Regions from separate parts of the Homo sapiens genome. Here region 2 is linked to region 1. The links are contacts of gene promoters, found by promoter capture Hi-C in human tissues and cell types (Jung and others, 2019). All regions are on one chromosome and are shown on one strand. Each heading gives the region's core, a stretch centred on a gene start or on the middle of the fragment in contact. The rest is flanking DNA. Distances are from core to core; before and after follow the strand shown.

What was found. Contacts are between HindIII fragments. The study calls those that stand out against the background at their distance.
Region 2: a fragment that was not itself captured here is called in contact with the fragment with the promoter of ESRP2 in region 1 in 1 of the 25 tissues and cell types used here (pancreas).

Annotation. Positions count from the first base shown.
Region 1 is chr16:68,234,838-68,237,419 of GRCh38, forward strand. ESRP2 (epithelial splicing regulatory protein 2) reads right to left here and starts at 1,290. Exons shown (of 15, transcript NM_024939.3): 1 at 1,011-1,290; 2 at 797-925. The coding sequence starts at 1,208. RefSeq lists a silencer at 1,238-1,467 and enhancers at 1,489-2,077, 2,078-2,582. The HindIII fragment of the contact is 21,026 bases long and covers 1-2,582 here.
Region 2 is chr16:69,195,348-69,197,929 of GRCh38, forward strand. The region is part of intron 1 of SNTB2 (syntrophin beta 2); the gene reads left to right. Among named protein-coding and RNA genes, the nearest start is that of SNTB2, 9.5 kb to the left of the region's middle. The HindIII fragment of the contact is 9,382 bases long and covers 1-2,582 here.

The DNA of each region.
Region 1 (2,582 bases), core at 40-2,539:
AGTGAAGGGCCGGGAGCCCTTCTGGAACAGACAAGGAATCATCATCGTGGTGCCTCCTCATCAGGAACCACAAGAGTTGTTGGAAGATGAAAGAACGTGAGTGTATAAAAAGGACTTACACTAATTACACTCAAGAGTCAGACATAGAATGAGCGCCGTAGTGAAGATAAGGAAAAGAAAACAGCAATGGAAACCACCTCCCACTTCAGCTAGGGCAGGAGGCACCCCAGGCCTTTGCACTCAGCAGGCAGATAGTCCCCCAGGCCAGGCCGGGACAGCGCCCACGCCTGGCCAGCCGGCCGGGACAGGCCTAGACGAGCAGTTTACACCTGGCGGCGTCTACCTCTAGGGCCGACACCGCCCTACGCCTCCGCTCCAGCAGCTCCCAAGCAGGCCGAAGACGCGGGCCGCAAGGACAGGTGACCTATATGGGCCCCTCGACCCCTTTCGCTTCCGGCTGCGGCTCAGGGAGACCTGACCCAGCAGGTCTCCCAAAGGCGTCTCGGCCTCGCTCCCCGGGCGGGAACTGGGGATGGATCCCAAAGCCTGCGTCCCGATCCCTTCGGTAGGAGTAGGTTCCTGCAATGGTTGAAAAGTAAGGAGCCCAGGGGAATGGCTGGCACGCGCGGATGAAAGGGGCACGCACACGCGAGAGTCGCTCAAAGTTTCAAACAAGAGCCCAGTCCTGCCGCCTGGACCGGTTGGTTGCGGCACGCCAGGCCTAGCCTCCGGCCGCCAATCCCGCCCAGAAATGTCCTCACGTCCAGGCCATGCCGCCACCCACCCCGGCGCTCACCTGCTGCAGCACCTTGTCCAGCGGCTCTGCCCGCGCCAGGCTGTCGGCGCTCAGGCCGCTCGCCTCGCGGCACTGCGTACTCAGTGCGGCCGCCTCGGCACGAACCAGCGATTTGTGCAGCGTCCCCACCTGTGAGCGGCGGGGGAAACCGATCAGCCGCGCCCCTCGACCCCGGAAGCTCCCTGGGGACCTCACCGCCTCTTTTCCACCCTACCTGGCGGCTCCGCGGCTCAACCACTTGCCAAACTAGGAGGATTAAGTCGGTCTCGTCCGAGCCCAGGTCCCGTCCCAGCGCACCCGCCGTAGCCCCGAAGAGGACGACCAGTGATCCGGGCCAGGGGCAGGGGTCCGCGGCGGGGTCGGCCGCGGGGTCAGGGCCCGGGGGAGGGGGCGGCGGCGGCGGCGGAGTCATGGCCGCAGAGGAAGGGGGCTCTCGGCCAGACACGCGGACCGACGAGGCGCACGCACGCACCGACCGACCGCAGACGCGGATCAGCTTGGGCGGGACACCGTGTATCGGGGGCGGCACCTGCGGCCCGGCTGGCTCAGTGGGCGCTGCCAAGACCCGCCCGTGGCGCCCCGCGGGGCGGGGCGGCTACCGGCCCACGCCCTCTCCAGGCGAGTTACCTGCCGGCCCCGCCGGCCACGTGACCGGGGCGGCTCCGGGAACCTTGGGGGAGGGCCGCCAGAACTCAACCCAGGACGCAAGAGCTCACGCTCCCGGCCTGGGCGCACGCTTAGGATCCGGATTCCTACTTCCAGGGCTGGTCCTGCCTGATTTTGGGGGCTAACCCATTCTTCCGCTCTCCCCCCACTCTTCCCCAGGGGTCGTCAGGCCTCTGCAAAGGAGCGTGCAAGACAGAGGCCTTCTCCAGTATGGAAGTCACCAGGAGGCAGTCTAGGGGCTGTGGGGGTCAACACGGCAGGTCTGGGGTTGATGGAAGTCAAAGGGTCAAGGGGGCGGTGAGAGTTGCCGGGTATCACCCTGTAGGGGGATCACCAGAAGTCACCTGGGAAAGGGGAGGGCGGCGGGAACATCAGCGTTGTTAGAGCTGTGGGGTGGTCACCAGGGATCACAGGGAAGGGCTTGTCCACGCAGATGCTAGGGCCGAGCGCTAGCCTGGCACTGAGAAGTGCCAGAGCGCGGTCGTTGTGGGTTGGGAGTGGGCAGGCCTCAATGCTGGGGAAAGGAACCCCCCAAATCGCAGAGAGCTGCACCCTAGACGAGGCTGAGAGGGGTAGAACGGGCCTGGAGCCTCACTCCTACCCCACGTGTGGGGGCCTGCCTGCTTTCGTCCCTTTCTGGACGGTGGAGAAGCTGCCTGGAGATTGCGAGCGCTCTGGCCGATGGGGGGCTAGCGTTGAGCGTGTGTGCGCGCATGCGGGCTGCAGATCCTCCCTTTTCCATCCCGCACCTACAACCCAATTGACAGCCCCGCATTTGGGGCTCCCATTCCTCCCTTTGCCCAGTGGAGCTTGGTGAGGCTCCTTTATGGCGCGTTTCCCGGCCGTTCCTTACTTTCCCAAACTCTCCCAGGGAGGTGACTGAGAAACTGAATAAGTGACTGAGAAACTGAATAATCCAGCAGGAAGGAGGGGGCTCCAGCGTGGCGGGAACTGAGTCACGCGGTTGCCTAGCCCGACTCGAGACTGAGACGGGAGCCGCACCACGCGCTTTCGGACAAGGAGGGTGCTGCGGCCCGGCCCCTGGACAATGGAGAGAGCGGGGCACCCGGGCGCATCACCAGAGCTCATGCCCGGGAAAGGGGCGAGGCCCGGGGGGAGA
Region 2 (2,582 bases), core at 54-2,553, 960 kb after region 1:
GCAGCCCTGAACTCTTGGGCTCAGGTGATCCTCTTGCCTTAACCTCTGGAGTAGTTGGGATTACAGGCATGAACTAATTACTGTTCCTGGTTTGCATTTTTTTTTTTTTTTAGTAAGAATTATTTTGGTTGCAGAAACCCAAAACCAACTAATTTAAGCAGAAGTGGAATGTATTGCCTTATGTAACTCCTGAGACCGGGGGTGGATCTAGGTTTAGGTTCAGTGGGATCCAAAGGCTCAAATTATCTTGGCTGCAACATCTCCTGCTGTGGAGGGTCTAATTCTGTATAGTCAGCTAAGATGGTGCCTGCAGCTCTAGGAACATATTGCCTTAACTTAATAACTAACCCCTGTAAGAAAAACTGGAGGGTTCTTTTACCACTCACATTATCAGTTTGGAGATAGGAAGGACTCCAATAGTTCTGCTTTGCCAGTTCCTCGGACCTATCACTATTACCAAAATGATGGAGACTGCAATCTAGACCTGTGTCACGTGCCCATCCCTTGTGTATTGAGGTTGGCAGCCTCACCAGACTATAAAATCTGGAGTGGGGTGGTTGCTAGGTTAACTTATGTACACTATAACAGGCTATAGGGCTTAAAATAATTTTGGCCGGGCATGTTGGCTCACACCTGTAATCCCAGCACTTTGGGAGGTCCAGGTGGAATCACTTCAGCCTAGTAGTTCAAGACCAGCCTGCACAACATGGCGAGACCCTGTCTCTACAAAACATGTAAAAAATTAGCCAGGTGAGGTGGCGAGTGCCTGTGGTCCCAGCTACTTGGGAGGCTGAGGTGGGAGGATCACTTGAGCTCGGGAGATTGAGGCTGCAGTGAGCCATGTTTGAGCCACTATACTCCAGCTTGGGCAATGGAGCAAGACCCTGTCTCAAAAAGAGAAAAAACAAAAGTGGCTAAGTTGTACATTTTTAAAAACAAAAGGAATCAAAATAGATAATAATGACACTTATGGAGAGCTTACTCTGCTAAGCTCTTTATGATCACAACTTTGTTTTTCTTTTCTTTTTCTTTTTTTTTTTTTTTTGAGATGGGGTTTGGCCCTGTCACCCAGGCTGGAGTGTAGTGGTGTGATCTCGGCTCACTGCAACCTCTGCCTCCTGGGTTCAAGCGATTCTCCTGCCTCAGCCTCCTGAGTAGCTGGGATTACAGACACGCGCTACCATGCCCGGCTAATTTTTGTATTTTTAGTAGAGATGGAGTTTCACCATATTGGTCAGGCTGGTCTCGAACTCCTGACCTTGTGATCTGCCCACCTTGGCCTCCCAAAGTCCTGGGATTACAGGCGTGAGCCACCGCACCTGGCCACAACTTATTCTTTTAACAGCCCTGTGAGTCAGGTGGCATCATCCCCATATAAAATATAAATAAATTGAGTCCTGGAAGATTAAACAGTCAGTGCAAGGTTATAGAATTTGTAGGTGATAGAGGCAAGATTAGTTACTCAGATTTATCAAACTACACAGCCTTTGATATTAACCATTATAATAGACTGCCTCTCTGGTGGATCAGTTTGGGTTAAGAAGCTAGCAAGTCTAAAGACAGGATTTATTGTTATGATTGGCTTAATTTTCAGGAAAATTGTGCTTTGGATTCTGTGTTGTTGCATCTATCTGGAGGTTATCCAGTTAATGTCTCTCAGTCTTTTCCTCATTTTTTTTTTTCATGCTGGACCTAAAGCTGTATGTAATTAATCAACTCATATTGAATAACTACACTCTGTTAGACACTCTGAGAGAAATAGAATATGTAAGCCCCAAAGATTTTACTTTTAAGAAGTACCCAAAATGGGTTTGTAAATACTAATAAACTGCACATAAGTGAATCCAAAGTATTTCATACATTATAAGTGGTAGACAAATGCTGAGAGAACTTGGAATAAGTGAGCAAGTAGTAGGAATGTATTTTGGGTCAAGTGAGAGAAGGGTGGGACATGGAATAGGTGTGGGTGGTGGGAAGGATGGAGGGCATGTTTAGAGGGGAAAGGCATGTCTAGAGAGCAAAGACTGGAACAAGCAGTGATGTTCAAACTTCAGCAAACAGATTTGATGAAATAGCCCATTTTCAAGGCTCTGTACCCCTTTTTAAAAATAGTTTAAATATTTTATTAGTAATATAACTGACTTCTGAAATATCTTGTAATAATTGTATTCATTATCTGCAAACTGTTTTGTAATGTAAAAATTAATTTTTCTTTTGTAATTATTCTAGCCAAACTTTTTTGTTACTGCTTTTACTTTTGATATATTACTATGTTATTTTACTTTTGGAAAACACCAGTTTTAACAAAGTAGCATTCTCCAAAGTATATTCATCTTTACAAGTAAATCTTTGCCCAAATGAAACAAAATCTGTTTTACTGAACACTAAATGTCTTTGATTTGCCTCATTTTGCTGTAATTGTTGGCCAGTAAAAGTATTTACATTGTTAGCTCTGTTTTCATTGCAGTAAGGGATGGCAACATTTTAGAAAACCACTAGTAGTGTAGATAATTTTTTTGAGTACTATGGATTCTGTATTGTCTCTTCAAAGATTATTAATTACATTCTAGGATAAAAATACA